Linked DNA regions of Homo sapiens: region 1 is linked to region 2. The links are contacts of gene promoters, found by promoter capture Hi-C in blood cells and fetal thymus (Javierre and others, 2016). All regions are on one chromosome and are shown on one strand. Each heading gives the region's core, a stretch centred on a gene start or on the middle of the fragment in contact. The rest is flanking DNA. Distances are from core to core; before and after follow the strand shown.

Region 1 (5,191 bases), core at 1,494-3,993, 280 kb after region 2:
TTCATTGTAGACTAAAGAATAATCTTCACACCAAATGGACCATTTTAAAATTGTTTTATAGCATTCCATTGATTAGTTCTTTATACAGATGATAAACTTCACTGAAGTATACACAAATATCACAAATAGTTATCTTCAAAATGCTTCCAAAGAAAATTGTTTCATATGTGTATTATAATGATCTGATCCATTTTTAATGTTGTTTTTGTTGGTGGTAGGGAAGACAGTATGAAGAAAAAGGACATAGGAATAGATCATGATGAATATTGTTTTCACTTTGGTAGTTAACTCCAAAATTATTTCTCAAGCTCCGATCATTCACCTTAGCCATAGTTTTGCATTTCTAGCTGTCTGTTGGGCATCATCATCTGAGTGGTCCACTGAAAACTAAAAGTACTGTTTCTTTCTCCAAACCAAGTTTTTATTTGCCTCCCCAGGTTATCTTTTCCCTCTCAATAGGTCCCATCTTCTGGTCAGTGGATAGAAAAGTGGCTTGACTTTTTCTTATCATCTGAGTCTGGGCCTGCTGAATAATTTAACAGACTTGATCACTTAGTCTCTCTTTTTCTTACCCGCCAGGCAATTGTAAGATAAAAATTGGAGGGTCAGTGTTTAAAAACGTTAAGAGCATTTTTGCTTGGGCTTCTGTTTGCATCAGGCTATAACGCCACGTCCTTGACAATGAGTTGGCAGTATGAATAATTGGATGAGTTTTTTAAAATGAATTTTTAGCTCTGTATAGATAATAACCTCAATACAGATATCTGGTGCCCCATTTCCCACTGATAAAGCCAAACCTAAATGAGAATGTTTGAAGTCTTCCAATATCTTACCATAGTTTTTACCTGGTTTCATCTCCTCTCCTCTCTACTTGTTTTGAATCATACTCCTTCCCACCAGCCATATCCTTCAAATCGAAGTCCAAATCCCCTATCTTAATACCTTCCTAGATTTAGAAAATCGAATTCCTTTCAACCTGTTCTTGCTTCTCTTCATGGTGCAGTTCATTTGGTATTACCTGGTGACATTTTTGGTAAGCTTTGTCTTAAGTTGACATATAATTCTTCACTTTTTTGAGCAGTAGAAATTTGGTAAATTTGTTTTCAGTCCTAATTCAGTTTGAGAATTGAAGACTGGCAAACTGTAATGTGAACAGTTGTCATTTCACCTCTTTTTTTTTTTTTTTTTTTTTTTAAGACAAGGTCTTGCTTTGTTGCCCAGGCTGGATGGAGTGCAGTGGCATAATCATGGCTCACTGCAGCCTCCACCTCCCAGGCTTAAGCAATTCTCCCACCTCAGCCTCCCGAGTAACTGGGACCACTCGTGGCACCACCACGCTTGGCTAATTTTTGAATTATCTGTAAAGACAAGGTCTTACTATGTTGCCCACCCTGGTCTCAAACTCCTGAGCTCTGGTGATCTTCCTGCCTGGGCCTCCCAAAGTGCTGGGATTACAGGTATGAGCCACCATGCCCCAGCCTCATTTCACCTCTTAAGATGTACCTAAGCTAGACTAGAAATTGTAAATGGGCACGTCATTAAAATTGAGTTTAAGACTCAGGTATTCAGTATATGTACAGATCGTTAAATTGAGACTGCCCTGAGGAGAAGTTAAAAATCCCACTTTAGGAATCATTTTGCTAACATGCAGAAATCAGTTGAAGGCAATTCATACAGCCATTAAACATCACATTTGAAAGAATATTTAATAACAGGAAATGCTTAAAAATATTTTATTTAAAATATAGGATTCAAAACTCTATACAGTGTGATCTTAATTATGAAGCAAACATACATTTTTATATATGTGTGTGTGTATGTATCTACATATATACATATGCAAAGAAAAAGATCAGAAGAAGTTGTACCAAATGTTAGGAATTATCTCTGAATGTGGTTGAATAAAAGGTTATTTTTTCTTAAATACATTTTATAATTTCTCCATTTTGTTATAACAAGCATATATGCCTCTTTATTTGAAAAATAACTCTCTGCTGGAAACCAATTATTATTCTATGTGGTCTTTTTTGATGACTTTACATGGTGTATAATGCTCCTAATGGAGGATTGGATAAAAAGATGTTCCTCACAGGAAATGTCATTATATCATGATCTCTGCATGAGAATGCAGCTGAATATAGTGGAAACCTTCCCCTATTCCCAACCCCCCATTTCATAGTGGAAAGAGCACAGAACTCTTTAAGTCCTAGTGTAACTGATTCTTCACATCTCTAGGGCTCAGGTGTTACCCTGGCAATTTTCTAAGATCAACTTAACACGTTATTAGAAGAGTAATAGCATAGTAGTATCCGTTCTTGTTTTGAAGATATTTATTGTTTTCTTTGAAGAGTTCTTTAGCCTTGATAGCACTTTTGGCTCTCTCTAAACATGAATATTTTTCATATAAAAACCGTTCTCCGAGCAATTTCAGAGTCTGTTTTTGAAAATGGGTGTCCCCAACCCCCAGGCCATGGACCAGTCTGTGGCCTGTTAGGAACTGGGCCTCACAGCAGGAGGCGGGCGGTAGGTGAGTGAGCATTACCGCCTGTGCTCCGCCTCCTGTCAGATCAGCTGTGGCATTAGATTCTAATAGGAGCACGAACCCTATTGTGAACTGTGCTTGCGAGAGATCTAGGTTGTATGCTCCTTCCGAGAGTCTAATGCGTGGTGAGCTGAGGTGGAACAGTTTCATCCCAAACCATCCCCCCACTTCCCCTGTCCATGGAAAAATTGTCTTTCATGAAACCTGTCTCTGGTGCCAAAAAGGTTGGTGACTACCGTTTTAAAACACAATTCTTTTTTTTTTTTTTTTGAGATGAAGTCTGGCTCTGTTGCCCAGGCTGGAGTGCAGTGGTGCAATCTCAGCTCACTGCAGCCTCCACCTCCCAGGTTCAAGCGATTATCCTGCCTCAGCCTCCTGAGTAGCTGGGATTACAGGTGTTTGCCACCACGTCCAGCTAATTTTTGTATTTTTAGTAGAGACAGGGTTTCACCATGTTGGCCAGGCTGGCCTCGAACTCCTGACCTCAAGTGATCCACCTGCCTTGGCCTCTCAAAGTGCTGGGATTACAGGCATGAGCCATCGTGCCCAGCCTTAAAACATAATTCTAAAGTGGCCACTGCTTTATGAGGAAATCATCAGTGCTTTCCCTTCCCTCCCTTCCCGTATTCCCAACTCCCCATTTCATCAAACTAATGATATATTTAACATGTTAAGGGTTTTTAGTCCTGATTTTAAGTCTCCTAAGACAGACCCCAAATTGGAGTGGACCTTTGAGATCACCAAGGCCAAACCTGTGCCCAGTGGCTTTACCAACAGACTTGAACTTACAAATGAGGTCATTACAAAGGAATACTGCAATGTGAAGTATCTTCATAGTTTTAGACGTTATTTATGTTAGGGTTCTTTATTTTGTGTTGACATCTCTGACTTTGCTTTGGTCCTTGTTCTTCTACCTAGAGCAGTGACAGCTCTTTTCATAGGAGAAGATTGCTGCCATATTCATCTGTGATCTTCTCCAGACTGAATGCCTTCAATGTGTTCCCAGAATGTGTATATATACTTATATTTTTTCTCATTTATCTTAACAGTCCTAATATGTCATTTCTAATCTTTAACCCCATAATGGAGATGAGAAATATGTGAAGAGAGGTTAAGTAATTAATCTTGTATCAGTCAGCTGGTAAATAGTGGAGTTGGGATTGGAACTCAGATCTTATGCTGGGTCCCGGTTGTACTTTTGTTAACGTTTGGAAATTCAGTTAAACAATATTAGTAATTTTGGGATGAGTGGGCTGTGATGAAATAACCTATAAAGCTACCGCCCTAACATTTATTTTCATGTCCCCAAATGTTGCCTCAACTAAATCTCTGTTACTGTGGTATATTTATTGTGACTCATCGTATTAAGTTTGTTTTTCTCCCTCTCTCTTAAGCCCTTTGATTTCTTATTTTATTGCCTAATAATATTTATTGTGTTATCAGGTACCCTGATAACCTAATTATTAGTCAACAAAGAATTAGTGTATAAATTTTTACATAATACTTGTCAGTCATTGACCACATGGATATGTATTTTGTGTAGCTGGAGTCAGTGTGTATACTTCTTTTATATTCCTGATTCTTTCAGTTATTATGATAATAATAGTCTTATTATTATTTGGTAACCTGTTTGAACAGTTGACTTGTTCAGCCCCTCAAAGGGAATTTCCCCCACTCCCCTCTGCTTCACTGAAACATGACCCATTAACATGAATTATTTCTACATTCCTTCACCTAGTATTTCATATGTATCTTTTTTCTTCTATCCCTCCAATCTGGTAAGAAGAAATACACTTGTCCTTTACAAGGAAACCTTGTCTTTGAATTATTGATCCTTGAGGTCTGCGAAATGTTTTTTGGAGACTTCCTGCATTAGCCATTCTGTCTTTTTAAATTAACAAGCTTTAATTTTTAGATTAGTTTTAGATTCACAGCAAAGTTGAATGAGAGGCCTAGAGAGTTCCCATATGCCCCCTGGTGCACACATGTACAGCTTCACCCTTACCAGAGTAGTACATTTGTTATAGTCAGTGAATCTACCTTTGTCATATCATTATCCAGAATCCATAGTTTCCACCAAGGTCTCACTCTTGGTGTTGTGCACTCTGTGGGTGTGGGCAAATGTGTATTGACACGCATCTACCAATGTAGTACCATAGAGAATGGTTTCACTACCTTAAAAGTCCTGTGTTCTGCCTATTCATCCCTTTCTTCCCCAGCCTCTCATCGCCACTGATCCTTTCACCGTCTCCATAGTTTTGCTTTTTCCAGAATGTCATATAGTTGGAATTATACAGTATGTAGCCTTTCAGATTGGCTTCTTTCACTTACGTAATATGCATTGACTTTTCCTTCATGTATATTTATAGCTTGATAGCTCATTTCCTTCTAGCACTGAATAATATTCCATTGTTTGGATATACCACAGTTTATCCACTTCCCTAGTGAAAGACATCTTGGTTGCTTCCACATAATTGGCAATTATGAATATAGCTGCTTGTGAAAATCTGTGTGCAGGATTTTGCATGGACTAAGTTTTTAACTCCTTTGCGTAAATGCCAAGGAGTGTGATTCCAGGATTGCAAGTTAACAGTATGATTAATTTTGTAAGAAACTGCCAAATGGCTTCCAAAGTGTCTATATACTTTT
Region 2 (5,501 bases), core at 2,416-4,915:
TAGCTGGCTTCAGAGTGATACACAGGCCCCACCTGATGTTACTATTATCTTGTTTGAGGGCCAGCCCACAGCCAACCAAACACCCAGGAACCATCCACTGTCACTAGCAGGCATTTAGACAGAGAAAGAAGCTCCAGAACATTTGTATGTGAGTGTCGATGTGAGAGCGTGTGTGTGTGAGCACGTGTGCACATTTCTGAGTATGTGAGTGTGCCTGTGGGTGTGTGTTGGGAGACTGGATGTACAAATGGACAGTGGCCAAATAATATATGCAAAAACAGAACACTGGCTCCCAGCTTGCAGCAACCAACCCCCAGAAACCAATTCACTATCTTCAGTAGCAAGTCTAGGAAGCCAGCCTGCTAGAAATCAAACTTGTAGGAGGTCAGAGCACCTTCTGACAGATTCCCTCATTTTTATCTCCTCTTCTGATCTAGCAGCAGCAAAATATGCACCTCCTCACCAATCACTAGAACTTGCTGCTGGTTCCCCATGCCAGCAGCCTCCCTTCAGGCCATACCTGAGCCTTCCTTTTGTTTTTTTTCTGAAACGACTCTTGCTCTGTCGCCCAGGCTGGACTGCAATGGTGGGATCTCGGCTCACTGCAACCTCCACCTCTCAGGTACAAGTGATTCTTCTGCCTCAGCCTTCCGAGTAGCTGGGATTACAGGTACCCCGCATCATGCCCGGCTAATTTTTGTATTTTTGTAGAGATGGGGTTTTACTATATTGGCCAGGCTGGTCTTGAACTCCTGACCTCAGGTGATCCGCCCACCTTGTCCTCCCAAAGTGCTGGGATTACAGGTATGAGCCACTGCACCCGGCCCTGAGCCTTCCTTTTATCGACTGTAAAGTTATCTCATTCCTTGGCCTGCCTTTGGGTCTGTGCCAAAATGCAGCGATGGTGGCTGACTCTCTTGCTATGGCAAGCTCTGAATTAATATCCATTGCTTGGTTTCATTTGCTTGTGCTCATTTAGTCTTCATTTATTTCCACCATGTGCATGAATGTGTGTGTGAGAGACAGCTGTGTGTGTATCTGAGTGCATGTGCACATCTGTGTGTATTGGGAATGGCAGGATCGGAGTGTGAAGAGGAACGCGGAGAAGGCTGTCTGCACCCACTGGAAGATCCTATCATTTATCTGGATTTGTTCCCTTGGAGTCCCTCTTCTTTTATGGCCCATGGAGTGGTGGTGGGGAGGGGGCGGGGGGAAGGGAGGGAGGATAGGATGAGAGTCACTTCTGTAGCACAGACAGTTGATTGTAAAAGTCACACTCCTTTGTGTAAAGTAATAAAGAGTCCCTAGACATGGTTCCCAGTGTCCCTTCCTGCCCTTCTGAACATGATGAAGCACCATACTTCTTTCCTGCTTTCAGACAGCCAATGGCAGGCTCCAAAGTGGCATTACCCCTGCCTGTGTGCCACTCACTCTGAGGTTCCCCTGTGCCCCACATCTGGGACTGAGGCCCTGACTTCCTGCCACCAGTGCATCGGGATTTAATCTGAGGCTGGGTGGCTATTTGCCTAAATTAATGGTTGCTAAAATTAAAACAGAGGTAAATAGCCCTTTACCTACCACACAGCCTCCCTGGGATTTTAACTGCAGCAAAGAGATCATTGAGGTGCTACCATTTTCTGATCAATCATGGTAATTTTCTTCCCCCTAAGATCAGCTTAATCATGCTAAGGGTCTTAGAGAGCACAGGGGTCAAAAGAAAATTACATGGTTGGGCAGGATTTCTCTGCAGCTCCAGTTTATTTTGTACCTCACTCTGATTTAGTGTTGCACTGCTCAGAAGCAATGCATAGTGCACTTGTTGAAACAGTAATGAACTGTTTGGCCATGTCATGGGGCTCAGCAGAGGTCCACAGAATAAGACAGTCTGTGGTCCAATCCACAGACACCTGACTGCAAAAGCTTCCACAGGGAGCTGAAGTTTAAGATGAAAGAAACGAAGGCTGACAACCTTGCCCTTGACAAACATTTGCCTCCAGCCTGGGATTCAACAATGTTTTAATAACATTTAATAATATTTTAATAGGGCATAAATGGTAAAATGGAGAGAACTCCCAAGCCCTGGGCCTGCTTTCTTGCACGTGTGTGTCACAGCTGCAGAAACACGTGCTTGTACAGGAATAATTGCCACCCCAACTCAGTACCAGCAGGTCTTGGAGCCCGTGATCTATTCACATGCTCAGCAAGTGTTTAATTAATAGTTCTTTCTCTGTTGTTTTCAAATCAATCACCCAGTTTTGAGCACGTCTATTTTCTCCTGCTGTTTGTTCTGTATTGTCACCTGTGGTGCAAAAAGCATATTTTATCAAGAATTGACTTAATTGCCAGTTTAAAACATTAAAGTGCATACTGTAAATCCATTAACAAACTGATCCTTACATGAATCACCAACCTATTTCTTGTGAATAATAACTGAGATAAACAGTGACTAATGACATTGAAAAGCAGCAATGCATTAAAGAAAAATTAACAGCTATGTCAGGGGCTAAGGAATTCCAGTCACCTCATACGTTTGCACCAACCAGATCACTGAAGACAAACGACGGGAAGTCATGACTCAGATGGTGATCTGCAGGGAAAGGTTTAGAGATGAGATGTGTCTGATGCCTCAACACTACCCCTCTCTCCATCTGTCTGTCTCTCTTGGCACCACGATTATGAAACTGCATTCTGAATGCTTAGGCCCTAAACCTAAACCAAGGGAAGGACCTCCAATAGAACACCCAACACACACTAATCTCCACTGTATACTAGACACAACCTTTCTGTATTGTTTCGATTGGATAGGATTTCTACCATTATTCTATTTCGTTTCTGTCCTGTTTTGTTTGTTGTCTGAGAACTTGATTGTCAAGTAAGAAGGAAGGAAGGTGAGATGCAGATTCACCCCTACCTCCACCCTCAGAGCATATTCTCCTTTGGAAATGGACCTTGAAAAGATCATTTCTCTCTGGGGAAGCAGAACATAACCTTAAGGTGTGGGTGTGGCATCCACCTCCATCTGGCGTGGGCCTTGGTGGGAGGAGGGCATTCCAGAGTGGAGAAAGGAGAATGGACCTGGCGGAGAGAAGTGGTCTGGCAGTTTTCTGATGATGCAGTTGTCCCTGCTGTCTGGGCCTGCGCTATCCAACACAGCAGCCACTAGCCACTTGGAGTTATTAAAATTTTATAAAAATTCAATAAAATTTAAATTCCATCAGCACTAGCCTCAGTTCAAATGCTCAGTGGCCAATGTGGCTGATACTGTATCAGACGGCGCAGACTTGGAACATTTCCATCAGGGCAGAAAGTTCTACAGGACAGCTTCTTCCTAGGGTCTAGGCAGCCCCGGAGCCTCACCTGGGGGATAAGCAAAATCACAGAGTGAGAATGCGTGTGGTCCAGGACCCCTCCCAGTCCCAGATACCGAACGACATCTGAGCAAGGGACTCTGTTGCCCCGGGGACGGTTTCAAAAGCTGGAGGCCGGGACTCCAAAGGGCTGGAGAGGCGTGATAATAGAACCAGTGCTTCAACAGCAACTTCTCTTTTGCAATCCTTGCTGGTCTGACAGGCTCCTGCAGAATTACATCACTTCCTAAAAAACAGGCACACACCTCTCCTTCAAGTCAGCACCGACCCAAACAAGCAGGAAACAGGAAATGTTCACGTTTCAGAGAGGCTGCAGCCCGGCGCAGCATCCTGAGCGCGCCTCTGCCGAGGCGAGCGGACATGCAGGCTCCCCGCGCAGCCCTAGTCTTCGCCCTGGTGATCGCGCTCGTTCCCGTCGGCCGGGGTAAGCCGCCTCCACTTCCTACTCCTGGGAAGGAGGATCGCAAAAGCTGGTAGGGTGCCCGAGGCTACAGAACTCTGCCGGGGAGGGTGACACCCAGAAAATCTAATCCTTTCTGTGAAAGAAGTGGAGAAAATTAGAACTCCTTTTTTTGGGGGGTGGGATGGAGAGGGGACTTCGCTTTCGCTGCAGCTGTCTAAACTGGCTACAGCTCTCACTTCATTTAACCCTCTTTCAGTCTTTGTCTTCCAGGAAGTGTGCGTCCCTGTAATTTACCAGCTTTAATGGGCATATTAAGAAAACCATAAACTTTTTGGCAGTTTATGTAAAAAAAAACAAAAGCTTCAATTGGCTGAAACAGAGACATGATTAATTTGCTTTTTATGGTGTGGGCTGAGAAGTCTGCTGATTCCAAAATCTCCTGGAAAAACTGGGGTGTGAAAATTTACTACTAGAAAGCATACTAAAGAAACGACATAAACTTAAAAAAAAAAAAAGGAAACGGGAAATTATCCGAAGAGCTACCAAAGAGCTATGTGTTAGAGGGTAGCCCTCTAACACATCAAGTAAGGTCTTTCATCTACTTTTATTGCACCTTGTTACTTTTACAGATTTTTTTTTTGCATTGATTGTTACTAATGAAGATTTGTTTGAAAAAGTAATATGATTGGAACCAATCAAAGGTATTGGAAAAAACAATATTGAATCTCATTATTATGGGCTAAAAGCAACAACTGATTTACACCCTTGCCAGTTGCTACAACAAGCACAAGCACCTTCAGCTGCCTCTCTTGTTGACTTGCCTTTGGGCAAATACACTGGCTGCCCATTGTTTCTGTCAATGAACACCGACTGCTTCTAGTGTAGGGCAGTATTTACCAAGCAAAAGGAAAGTTCTCAAGCTACAGTTCTTTAGATAGAATGAGGGACATCAGCCCCAACCTAACAGATGTGACAACTTCCTGGAGGTCAGCAGCCAGCACCCAGCCACCCCACTCCATCAATTTCTCTTCCCCTGGGTGTTCTCCATGTGGTCCCCCAGGCATCTGAGGTAGAAAACAAAGTGGAAGGCAAATCATTCCAGCTGAAAAGATGTCTGGTTAAATTGAGTTTAGTGTTCAGAGTGGGTTTGGAAGTTGATGTGTTGTTTTATGCCCAGTGTTTTGGAGCTGGAAGGGAACTTGAAGATGATGCAGCTCAAACCATATTGGGCACACAGGTGAAGAAACAGAGGTGGAAGAAGGGAGATGTCTGGGTCTTGCTGCTAGTCAGCTCTTCTGGCTTCTACTCCAGAGTTCTTTGAGCTCCTCCACCCCCCACCACCACTGCCCCCCTCCCCCCACCGCCGCCCCGGAACCAATCACTGTCTCTGCCAAGAGCTCTGGAACCTTTCGTAGTAGGACATCAGGGAAGAAAAGCCTAGCCATCCTCCTTCCACCTCTTCTATTGCACAACACTGCCACAGGTGCCTCAAACACTCCCTTAATACTAATTCATCTTGCCTGAACTTTTTTTTTAGCTTCTAAAAAATGATTGAGTCCTAGTGTCTGCAATTCAGGAGATGCAAAAAGAGAATCTGAAGAGACTTGGTTAAAGTTGCCTTTCTGACACCTGAATCTGATCGTGCACATCTTCCCCCTTAAGGACCCCTCATTTATGCCCCTTCACTTGTTCCTCATTTTTGCCCCTTAGACTCTCACTGCAACCTCCTT

What was found. Contacts are between HindIII fragments. The CHiCAGO score rates a contact against its expected background, and 5 or more counts as called.
Region 1: a fragment that was not itself captured here is called in contact with the fragment with the promoter of TMEM154 in region 2 in 2 of 17 cell types (monocytes and total B cells); the score reaches 6.5 in monocytes.

Annotation. Positions count from the first base shown.
Region 1 is chr4:152,401,099-152,406,289 of GRCh38, reverse strand. The region is part of intron 4 of FBXW7 (F-box and WD repeat domain containing 7); the gene reads left to right. Among named protein-coding and RNA genes, the nearest start is that of FBXW7-AS1, 66 kb to the right of the region's middle. The HindIII fragment of the contact is 3,406 bases long and covers 1,041-4,446 here.
Region 2 is chr4:152,678,161-152,683,661 of GRCh38, reverse strand. TMEM154 (transmembrane protein 154) reads left to right here and starts at 3,665. Exons shown (of 7, transcript NM_152680.3): 1 at 3,665-3,792. The coding sequence starts at 3,729. LOC105377495 (a long non-coding RNA gene) reads right to left here and starts at 3,577. Exons shown (of 4, transcript XR_939359.3): 1 at 3,358-3,577; 2 at 2,989-3,075; 3 at 2,522-2,587; 4 at 2,000-2,299. RefSeq lists enhancers at 3,582-3,891, 3,202-4,031. The HindIII fragment of the contact is 2,211 bases long and covers 1,923-4,133 here.